2 separate regions of the Homo sapiens genome follow, and region 2 is linked to region 1. Evidence: promoter capture Hi-C in human tissues and cell types (Jung and others, 2019). All regions are on one chromosome and are shown on one strand. Each heading gives the region's core, a stretch centred on a gene start or on the middle of the fragment in contact. The rest is flanking DNA. Distances are from core to core; before and after follow the strand shown.

Evidence for each region. Contacts are between HindIII fragments. The study calls those that stand out against the background at their distance.
Region 2: a contact is called between a fragment that was not itself captured here and the fragment with the promoter of MDM4 in region 1, in 1 of the 25 tissues and cell types used here (dorsolateral prefrontal cortex).

What each region holds. Positions count from the first base shown.
Region 1 is chr1:204,514,824-204,520,596 of GRCh38, reverse strand. It overlaps MDM4 (MDM4 regulator of p53), which reads right to left and starts at 4,191. Exons shown (of 11, transcript NM_002393.5): 1 at 4,088-4,191. RefSeq lists enhancers at 3,919-4,198, 4,229-4,308, 4,319-4,448, 3,887-4,797, 3,738-4,937 and 1 more. The HindIII fragment of the contact is 11,632 bases long and covers 1-5,773 here.
Region 2 is chr1:204,818,605-204,824,823 of GRCh38, reverse strand. No RefSeq gene overlaps it. Among named protein-coding and RNA genes, the nearest start is that of NFASC, 6.9 kb to the left of the region's middle. The HindIII fragment of the contact is 4,246 bases long and covers 2,466-6,219 here.

The sequences.
Region 1 (5,773 bases), core at 2,942-5,441:
ATTTTTAACGCAATAATCTTCCACAAACTAAGACTCTGATCATAACCTATATTTAACGATAATATCCCCCATCCCATTTTGCTGCCTTCCTGCAATAATAATCATCCTGAACCCTATTGTTTTCATTTCCCTTGCTTTCCTTTTTATACATTTTACTGCATCAAAATGGATTCCTAAAAAGTATTTTTAGTTTAGTTGCTCTTAATTATTAAAAAAAAAAAAAAGCAGGGATGTTGCATGTAATTTGGGAAATTTTGTTCCACTAACATAGATTAATTCCTACTGTCATATCAAAATTCATTTTTTTTTTTTTTTTTTTGAGATGGAGTCTCGCTCTGTCGCACAGGCTGGAGTGCAGTGGCGAGATCTCCCCTCACTGCAGGCTCCACCCCCCGGGGTTCATGCCATTCTTCTGCCTCAGCCTCCCGCGTAGCTGGGACTACAGGCGTCCACCACCTCGCCTGGCTAATTTTTTGTATTTTTAGTAGAGACGGGGTTTCACCATGTTAGCCAGGATGGTCTCGATCTCCTGACCTCGTGATCCGCCCGCCTCGGCCTCCCAAAGTGCTGGGATTACAGGCATAAGCCACCGCGCCCAGCCTAAAATGGTAGTTCTTTCTTATCTCTTAGTTTTTCGTTTATATTTTTCTCTTTCTTTGTTCTAGATTTTCTCCTTCTAGAATTCTAATTCATTCCTCAGTTGTATCCGTTCTGTTATTTATTCCATCTGTGATTCCATAACATTACAGATGGAATAAATTACAGAATAGATATAGATGTTTTGAGACAAGGTCTCACTCTGTCGCCCAGGCTGGACTGCAGTGCCGTGATCATGGCTTACTGCAACCTCAACCTCCCCAGCTCAAGCAAGCCTCCCACCTTAGCCTCTGGAGTAGCTGGGACTACAGGCGTGTACCACCTAATCCAGCTAGTTTTTTTAATGTTCCCCAGGCTAGTCTCAAATTCTGAGCTAAAGCAATCCTTTTCAGCCTCCCAAAGTGCTGGGATTACAGGCATGAGCCACCATGCCAGGCCAATGTTCTTTAATCCAACCACTGTATTTTTCTTTTTCATATACATATATTTTTTGAGACGGAGTTTCGCTCTTGTTGCCCAGGTTGGAGTGCAATGGAGCGATCCTGGTCCACCGCAACCTCCACCTCCTGGGTTCAAACGATTCTCCTGCCTCAGCCTCCCGAGTAGCTAGGATTACAGGCATGCACCATCACGCCCAGCTAACTTTAACTTTATATTTTTAGTAGAGACGCGGTTTCTTTTTGTTGGTCAGGCTGGTCTCGAACTCCCAACCAGGTGATCCGCCCACCTTGGCCCAGCCTGCCAAAAGCATTTTAAAAAGTAAAAAAATCCTATAGTGTCAGGCCCTGCTCAACAGCTTGCTATTGCTGTAAAGATAAACACGTGGTCTATCCCCTCAGCACATTTTCACTCTTATCTTGCACTGTTTAGTCGTATCTTGAGCCTCAGCCACCCTGATCTTTTAGTTTCTCAAACAGGGCCTTTGCACAAATCGTCCCTTCATTTGGAGCACTGTGAGTTTTGTACAAAACTGATTCATCCTAAACCTTCAAGTCTCAGGTTAAATGTCACCTCTTCAACAGTCATCACGAGATTCCAGGCCAGAAGCAGTGGCTCACACCTGTAATCCCAGCACTTTGGGAGGCCAAGGCAGGCAGATTGAGGCCAGGAGTTCAAGACCAGCCTGGCCAACATAATGAAAACCTCTCTCTACTGAAAATACAAAAATTAGCTGGGCGTGGTGGCACAACGCCTGTAATCCAGCTACTTGCGTGGCTGCGGCAGAAGAATAGCTTGAACCCAGAAGGCAGAGGTTGCAGTGAGCCAAGATCATACCACTTCACTCCAGTGGCAGGGGTAGGGGATGCTAAAGCCATCTGAGTGAAAGGTTGGGGTGGAAAGAAAACACGTGGAGTAGGCTGACCATTCCACCATCCCCAACCTTATCACTAAAAGAGGGTCATTCACACACCATATACTACTTGATTATGAAGCAACAAGAAACTAGCACAACACCTATTAAGTATTCCTGACCAAAAGATAAATAATCCAAATCTAGACCTACCTACTAACTGCAAGTTACTAGGGAAAATGGAGAGCAAGCAGTTAATAAGTCAAATCCAGAACGTAGGTGTTCTACAGGACCTGGGACGGCAGGGAAGATTAAAGTGGGAAGATTAAACTGGGAAGATTAAATCTTTAATTAAAGATTAACGATTGTTATAGAATCTTAAAAAACCAACTGCAGCCGGTGGCCTGTGCCTGTAGTCCCAGCTATTCCGGAGGGCTGAGGCAGGAGGATCCCTAGAGTCCAGGAGTTTCAGGCTGTAGTGTGCAATGATCACACCTGTGAATAGCCACTGCACTGCAGCCTGAGCACACAGTGAGACCTCATCTCTTTTTTTGAGACAGGCTCTCGCGCTGTCGCCTAAGCTAGAGTGCAGTAGCTCCATCCCGGCTTGCTGCAGCCTTTACCTCCTGGGATCAAGCAATCCTCCCACCTCAGTCTCTTGGGTAGCTGGGACTGGAAGCTCGCTCTATGACACTGATTTTTTTATTTTTTGCAGAGATGGGGCTCAGTTTGTTGCCTAGGCTGGTGTCGAACTCCGAGACTCAAGCAAACCTGCCCCCTTGGCCTCCCAAAGTGCTGGGATTAAAGGTGTGAGCCACTGGGCCTGGCCGAAATCCCATCTATTAAAAAAAAAATGTATGAGGAGAGAGAAGACTAAATCTAAACTGAGATACAGTAATACTTAACACCAAGAGGTTCCAAGTATCTTTGACAGATACTAGTTCCACGTGCCAACAGCACAGAGCTGCAGCATTTTCTCCGGGTGTTGCTTTTAAACTGTGGTTTTCGGCCGGGCACGGTGGCTCACGCCTGTAATCCCAACACTTTCGGAGGCCGAGGTGGGCGGATCACCTGAGGTCTGGAGTTCGAGAACAGCCTGGCCAACCTGGTGAAACCTCATCTCTAATAAAACACAAAATTAGCCAGGCGTGGTGGCGCACACCTGTAATCCCAGCGACCCGGGAGGCTGAGGCAGAAGAATCACTTGAACCCGTGAGGCAGAAGTTGCAGTGAGCCAAGATCGCGCCACTGCACGCCAGCCTGGGCAAAAAGAGCGAAACTCCACTCAAAAAAAACAAAAACAAAACAAAAACACAACCAAAAAAACCTGTGGTTTTCAAGCTTTAAGGTATACAAAAATCACTGGGAGGTGTGCTCATTAAAATATATTTCTCTGAGCCCCATCTCGATACTGTCTGTAGGTTTCAGTGTGGCCCCAAAACGAACATTTTTTCTTTTTTTTTTTTTGAGACGGAATCTCCCTCTGTAGCCCAAGCTGGAGTGCAGTGGCGCGATCTCGACTCACTGCAACCCCCGCCCACGGATTCAAGTGATTCTCCTGCCTCAGCCTCCCGAGTAGCTAGGATTACAGGCATGCGCCACCACACACATCTAATATTTTTGTATTTTTACTAGAGACGGGGTTTCACCAGGTTGGCCAGGTTGGTCTCGAACTCCTGTCCTCAGGTAGATCCACCCACCTCGGCCTCCTGAAGTGCTGGGATTACAGGCGTGAGCCACCGCGCCAAGCCAAAACAAGCATTTTCAAACAAGCACTCAAGTGCCTCTAAGGTAGACTGTCCGCAGACCTAAAAACTAACTTAAAAACTTAAGACACGTCAATGTCATTCTACCCGGTTCCCTCTCTCCCACCTCCTTTCTCCAAATTGCCTCAACAGTCCTCAAATGTTGTGTCCAGTTAAACTCAATCCAACTACGTCGACTTTAGGTTTGTCACCTGTTGGCCAAAGTTACTTCACGTCACCCCACCTCCACTTTTATCTTCCGCGAGCCCTCATCCCACAACTCTTCCCCTCCCCCCGAGCCCTTCTTCCGCCTGGCGCGGCCTTCCCCACGCCGCCCGACCCACCTCTCAAGCTCCTCCCGCCCGCTACCCGCACAACTGGCGGTACGGCCGCCTGCTCCTCACTCTCCAGCTCCCGCTCCCGGCACCCCGCCGACGAAGGCCAAGAGCCACACCTTACGGCAGCTCCATGAGTCGCTCCCCCGCCGAGCCCGGGTGGGGGGAGGGGTGGCAGTCACAGATCCTAGGGCCTCGGCAGCATTTTGAAATGGCGAGTAATGAAGCCGCAACTTCCGGCCTCCCACACGGCCTCACACGAGGGCTTCCGGTGAGGCCTCCGGAAACCATAGATGGAGCAATGGGAGGACTAGAGAGCTAGAAAGGCTGAGCTCACTACCATAGAGTAGATCCTAGTCCGGGGAGAGAGTCGTGGGGCCCGAACGGTTGAAAGTCGTCAGATTTGAAGAGATAATAAGTGAGGGACTTGCAGGGTCTTGTGATATTTACAGACGTGTATTAGGAGATCAGAAAACAGAGAAGAGGAAGAGCTAAGGTCATAATCACAGGCTGCCTTCAGCTCTTCGGAAAAACTACGCTTCCTCTGCCATTCCCCAGTCCTCACCCTTACTCCCCAAGGGTGGTAGGGAAGGGAAACGGAGCGATGGCGGCACTAGGGTGGCAAGGAAGCTTGAAGCCATGTCAAATAAATAGTTGAAAGCACCAGCCGCTGTGGCTCACGCCTGTAATCCCAGCACTTTGGGAGGCCTAAGGCAGGCGGATCACCTGAGGTCAGGAGTTCGAGACCAGTCTGACCAATATGGTGAAACCCTGTTTCTACTAAAAATACAAAATTAGTCGGGTGTGGTGGCGCATGCCTGTAATCCCAGCTACTCAGGAGAATCGTTTGAACTTGGGAGGCGGAGGTTGCAGTGAGCCGAGATAGCGCCATTCCAGCCTGGGCAACAAGAGCGAAACTCCTCAAAAAAAAAAAAAAAAAAGAAAAAGAAATAGTTGAAGGCTCAAGGGAGTTTTTAACCTGCATATAAACGAGGGAGGCCGGGCGCAGTGGCTCTCCCCTGTAATCCCAGCGCACTTTGGGAGGCCGAGGCGGGCGGATCACCTGAGGTCAGCAGTTCGAGACCATCCTGCCCAACATGGCGAAACCCCCGTTTCTACTAAAAATACAAAAAATTAGCGGGGCATGGTGGCGGTCACCTGTAATCCCAGCTACTTAGGAGGCCGAGGCAGGAGAATCGTTTGAACCCGGGTGGCGGAGGTTGCAGTGAGCCGAGATAGCGCCATTGCACTCCAGCCTGGGCGACAAGAGCGAAACTGCATCTCAAAAAAAAAAAAAAAAAAAAAGAGGGAAAGGGTTGAGCATAGAAATTGGAAGCTGTCTTCAAATAACTGAATAGTATAATATTGGAAATAACGGAGCCTTATTCTCTTCTCCAAAGTGCAGAACTAAAACCAATAGAAATTACAAGGCAGTATTTTTAAGCTCAGAAAATCCTCTAACATTTAGAGTTGTTCTGAAATAAATGAAATTAGGTATTTGGGGGAAGTAATGTCATTTGAAGACAGCCTGCCTGAGAGGTTTGTTGAAAGCTCTTCTATATTAGGAAACATTAAAACTGGCTGTGTAACCCAAGAAAGCTCCATCTCAGTGTTCTTTGCACCTGTCTTTTAGCATTTACCACGTATTTTTTTTTTAGTTATTTGTGTATATACCATTCTTATCTCTCCCAATAAGCAACAACAAAACCTGGCTCCCAATGCTAGATACAGACCCATGCAAAAGAACACAGGGCAGTAACCTTCCTTAAATTTGTACATTCCGCTTTGTTCTACTTCTAGCATAA
Region 2 (6,219 bases), core at 3,339-5,838, 300 kb before region 1:
GGCCCACACAGAGCTTGCTCCCACCAGAGAGGAGTGACCGGCTAGTTCTAGCATTCGTTCACTCTGGTTCCCGCACTCACTCACACACTCCCTTCTGCCAGGAGTGGCCATCAGCAGGCTGAGTGAAATGAGCCACTCCAGTTCCTGCCCACAAAGGGGGTCAAGGGAACAATCCTGTGTCACTATCATGAGGAAGAACAAGAGCAGAGTGATAGTCATGCTGAGCTCTAGCAAAGCAGGTGGATGAGGATGCAGAAAAGCAAGCAGAGTAGCATGTTCAGAAGGAATGTAGAGGGGCAAATTTTAGAAAGTTCCAGGAATATAGGCCCCCCCCATAATGCAGGAGGGCAGGAAGACAGGTGCAGTGAAAGCCAATGGGAAAAACCACTAGGAATTTCCCATAGGTCCCCCAAGAAGCTACTAGACTCTTTGATCTCTTATCTCATCTCTCCCTCAGCATCTTCTAGTCTCTCCCTAGGCCAAGGGGGAAAGTTGCATCCCAATTTGCACACAGCATTAAGGGAAGGAGGGAGGGATCCAGGAACAGGGCTCTGGTCCTTCTCCCATTTGGCCAGTGCACACATGCTGGTGATCCAAAGCAGTGGCAGATGTGGAGACCCCATGCTGTCTGCAGGTCCTCATCACCCCCCAACACCTGTCACATTCTCAAGTGCCTAGAATTTTCTTCCCCCCATGCTGGGGAGTAGCCAAAGGAAAGGAAGCACTCAGCCCAACTCCAAGCTGGAGAGCATCTTTCCATCTGCTCTCTTACTTCCCGCTTTGAAATTAAAAAATAAAAATCTCCTTGGGAGTTGCCTCTTGCCCACCACTGCCAAGGGCCAGCCATAGAGCTCAGTTTATGAAGTCACTTGGAAATGTGCATGTGTTAGAGCTTTTACCTTCCAGATGCAGAGACCTCCCCAAGCTACATAGAATTAGTCTTCCACTGTACGTAGGTGAAATTCCATTCCTGGAATGGAATTTGAGAGATGGGGCAGTGAATGGGGAAGTTAGAGAGGAGGAGAGAGAAGCTTTGGAATAGCCATTAACCAGCCTTGACTCTAGGCCTGGGTATCAGACCTGTCCCTGCTCCAAGAGTGAGGGAGGCAAAGGGTGGAACTGCCCCACCGTCTGCTTTTATACAGAGCATGTTTCCACCTTTAAAGACTACCTTTGAATTTCACCTGCATAAATATATTAGAAAGAGTAGGATTTTTGGAGTCTTTCTCTACCATGATGAAAGGCCTTGTATTAGTCTGTTCTGTCATTGCTATAAAGAAATACCTGAGACTGGGTAATTTACAAAGAAAAGAGGTTTAGTTGGCTCATGGTTCTTCAGGTGGTATAGGAAGCATGGCAGTATCAGCTTCTGGGGAGGCCTCAGGGAATTTTACTGATGGCAGAAGGGCAGGCATCTTCACATGGCCAGAGCAGGAGGAAGAGAGGTGAAGGGGAGGTGCCACATACTTTTAAATAACCAGATCTCACTATCGCGATGACAGCACCAAGGAGGATGATGTTAAACCATGAGAAACCACTCTCATGATCTAATCCCCTCCCACCAGGCCCCACCTAAAACATTGAGGATTACAATTTGACATGAGATTTGGGTGGGAACACAGATCCAAACCATATCAGGCCTATACCTGTTTATTAACAATAGTAGTAAAATAAGCTATTTCTCTCTCTCTTACTTCTAATGAGCCAACCAGCAAGAAAAGCCCAACTGCAAACTCTCTCTATAAACATATGAAACCTTGTCTTTCTGGAGGACTTTGAGGACTGGTCTTCTAGGTGGGTTGCTTCATAATCCTGTCCCTAGACAGGGAAATATGGTCCCTCCCCAGGTGGGAACCCTGGAATTTAGAAAACCTTTATCAAAAGAGCTTTTCCTTTTGCAGTTGTCTTGCAAACGTATTTGTGTTAATAGTCTTGAGAGTGATTGTGCCCAGCTAACCACAAAGGCATTCATTTCATCTTAATCAAATGGTTAAAACATATTAAAAGCCTGGTGCGGTGGCGCATGCCTACAGTCCCAGCTACTTGAGAGGGTGAGGTGGGAGGATTGCTTGACCCCAGGTATTGGAGGCTTCATTGTGCAATGACCATTTTTGTGAATAGCTACTGCACTCCAGCCTGGGCAACACAGTGAGACATTCTGGTCCTTAAAAAAAAAAAAAAAAAAAAAAACCCAAAACAAAATATATTAAAACAATCTCTTTTCCGGAAAGCCCTTACTCACTTTGTCTTTGTGATGTACTCCTTTCTGAAGACTCAGCTTAAACATCTCTGGTGTGAAAAACAAAACAAAACAAAACAAAAAACTCTTCCTCTGCCAGACTCAGCCTCTCATCTGTGCAGCAGTGTACACAGTAAGGGCTTCCCTCATAGCACTTACTGCACTGCGTTTCCAACTGGAAGTTTCCTAGAACAGGGACCATCTTCCTCTCATTGTATCTACAGGGTCCAGCACTATACACTGCTCATAGCTGAAGCTATGGATGAGTGCATGATAAATAAAAGTATGAATAAAAGCAGAGCTGCTATGAATATAGACAGTGCTATCCAATGACAGTAGCCACTAGCCGCATGTGACTATTTAAATTTAACTAAAATTAAAAATTCAGCTCTTCAGTCACACTAACCACATTATAAGTGTACAAGAGCTGCATGTGCCTAGCGGCCACTGTATTAAATGACACAGATTAAAGAACATTGCTATAATTGCAGAAAGTTCTATTGAACAGCACTGGACTACATTATGATGGGCCCAGCTGAAGTTATGCAGTGCGTGACCTGCACAACTGTTCAGAGTGGGCCTGTATGAATGAAGGACCTCTCTGTGTGCAGTACTGTGACCGCTGCTGTGCTAGCTGCTGATCAAAGAATTACACAGACATTTATAGTCTAAGACAGGCATGAGAACATCTGAAAACACATTGTAAAGAATGGCCTCTCGATGAGTAAATATGGGTCAAATGAAGTAAACAGACTATGCGTAGGTATCATCAAATATAGAGAGAATGAACAGACCGAAGAAGGGAAATACAAAGAGGTTTGACGTCCTCACAGCCTAAAAACTAGTGTCTGTTTCCCTTCTTGAAATGGACATTACTTGGCTAGAATTATTTCCTGGAGAAATAAACATATTAGACAGAAATAACCATGCTGGCTATTGAAATATAGCCAAAGAAAATATTTGTCTTCACGTAGCAACCACAGAAGGTCTCCATCATGGCAACCACTGATTTTTCTGGATAAGGTAAGATTTATGATGGTCTTTCTGTTGTTTTCAATAAACCATGGAAATGTCCTATCCATTGCAACATTTCAGCCTCTAAATTGTCTTTCTGACACTGCTTCTTGCACATAGCAAATGTCTGAAAATCTTTTGTCACAGAAAGTGTCTCAGTTTTCTTTTTTTAAGCTATTACCTACCAGAAGTACCTCAGCTTTCTATCAGGAAAATGTGGTCCCTGTACCTTGAGGGTCTTTTTCACTTCCTGTGGGTTATTATTTTATTCTGTTAAAGAAACTGTTAAGTCCAAATGGTTAAGGATGTCTCCTGCACTGGGCCAGACCCACCCAGCTGGGGAAAAGGAAAGGAGACTTCGCCTTCACTTTGTAGCAAGTCAGGGGTACTGTGCTCCAGTCTCTAGACCCTAGACCCCAGACCCCAGACTCCTCTGTTTCTATCCTGTCCTGCCCCTGCCTCCACCCCCAACACAATTTCTGCTGGCTGGCAGGATCAGCAGGAGTAGGGCATGGAGCCAGGAGGTCGCAGCTGAGAACCCAGCCTGTGGGCCTGGCCACCCCCAATTAGTTTATCTTATTAATGCCAATTTATTAGCACAGAACCCCTGGGAAGTGGGCTGGAGGAGTTGTCTGTTTAAAATAAGCTTTTATATTTCAGGTCTGCAAACTGCACACCTGAGAGGCCAGGCCCGAGGTGGGTGGCCTTCCTGCCTCCCACCTCCTCTGGGTAGACCTGGGAGAGTGGATCTGACAGTGGCAGATGGGATGGTGTATGCTTCTAAATACAAGATTTGTCACAGTTTTACATGTAATTGTGCAGGCTTCCTTTTAAGGGTCCTCTACGACTTCATTAGCAACAAAGAATTACTCTATTAAGCTTTATAAATAACATAGCCTTAATAATTAAATCTTGTTCCTTCTCAGGGCCCCAAGTGGACTCACTCCTTCAGTTCTTAGGTGTTAGGAGCTGCAGTAAATGATATTTTCCTTATATTTCCTTAGGGACTTTCTGACTTGTAATAAGTCCTCATCATTCACCCCCTCATTGAAGCTGGGACTGAAATAAGTGGTGCCATATCCTCTCAGACACAAGAGAGCATTTTAAACAAATTGATGAACAGTCATCATTTAAGGAAAATATTAAAAGTACCTGAGACATTTTCATGGGCCATAAGTTCCCTCTGCTACATACGAACCAAGTGCTATGACCAGGTGAATCCTACCTGCAAAGATGTAGGAGTGAGAGAAATGAAACCCCTTTTCTTATTCAGACTCAGCTTTAAAAAACTCCAAGAGCAAACAAAAGCTGCTCATCCATCCTTGCCCAGGAAGAACCTCTCCATGGATAAGCATTCGGCTATTGTGTGCGTTGGTGCATATTAGGGGGAGAATGAGTCCATCTGAATCAGTGGTGCGCTAGTAAATAGTTAACAACTGGTTCACTGGAAAGAAAAAAACCCCTGAGGTATAGCATTTTCTGATTTCTGTGATGTAAATTCCCCTGCCATGGTCAATCTCAAGATGACAACATGATGTCACTCAATGTGATGAAGGAGAGACCATTATATTACATTTCCACCATACAGCTACTATGAACGTAAATAACCTCAAGATCATAGATAATAGTAAAACACAGGAAAATCATTAGAAAATGATGGGTTTCGAGTTATTTCTACTTTTTCATTTAATGTAATTATTTAATTGTAAGTTTATATAATTTAATGTTTCCTGATGGCTGTCTCTCACAGCTGGCTTGCAAAGTTCCTGAAAATTTAACAATCAGCTCCTGTGAGCTGGCATAAGCTTGTTCCGGCACATTATTGCCCTGGAGCCACTCAGTCACATGTCTGTGTCCCTGTTGTTATTGCCACTTCCAGCTTAGAATTTCTGTGTCATAGCTTCCATGGCAACCTCATGATGCATGATGCGTTCTTAAAAAGTGGAAACCAGACATAGACACTGCTAGTGACCCAGCCATATCCACTTTAGAGCTGGTGCTGCCATCCCCCAGCTGCTGTGAGTGCTGCAGCTAATGGGGAAGGGGTCACACCTGTGTCCCTCCCTGAAGCCCTGATCCCACTTCAGGACCTGCCTCTCCCTGAGATGCGTGGAGGTTGCAGTTGCCAGTGATGACTTACAAGGGGCAAAAATCCCTTCCCCTTGCCTCAAGGATGACTATTCTTCGGAGGAGTTACACTCAGAGTATCTGTGAATCAGGCCAAAGTATGATGTGCCTTTACATGGACACATCCTGGCTTGGCAACTTCCTTTATCCTGCTTTTCACATTCCCTTCTTCAGTAAATATGCACCAAATTGAACTCAACATGAGCAAAGACAGTACCAAGGCTGACAAATAGGCCTGCGTTCAGGAGCAGTAAGATAGAAACCTGCAGTCACACAAGGTTGGGCTGGGCTTTGGCACCAGTCAAAAGGGTTTTAGCATTGGTCCGGTTGGCATCAAACACCCTGCTACAGGGCCTTTGGCTGGGATTGCTCTGGGGCCAACTTTTCTCTATTTCCATGCACTTCAACATGGGGTATCAGTGCTATAACAAGGGTTCTAGAACATGAAATATCTTCATGGATCATCATTTTGGCTCAGATTTAATGAGAACATGGGTAGAATGGGGAAAGTTTTGTAATCTAGCTAGAAGGTAATTTTATGTATTTGTATACTGAAATAATAATAGCTAACGCAAGTAGTGATTACCATATGCATGTCTCTAAGAACTTGATAACAGATAAAGCACATTGAATCATTACTACAATGTGATGAGAAAACCTAGGCTAAAGACAGGTTAAATATGTTACCCAAGGTCTCCTAGCTAGCAAACTGAAGAGCTGGATTTGAACCTATGTGGTATGGTTCCAAGTCTGTACTTTTTTTTTTTTTTTTTTTTGAGCTGGAGTCTTGCTCTGCTGCCCAGGCTGGAGTGCGGTGGTGTGATCTCAGTTTGCTGCAA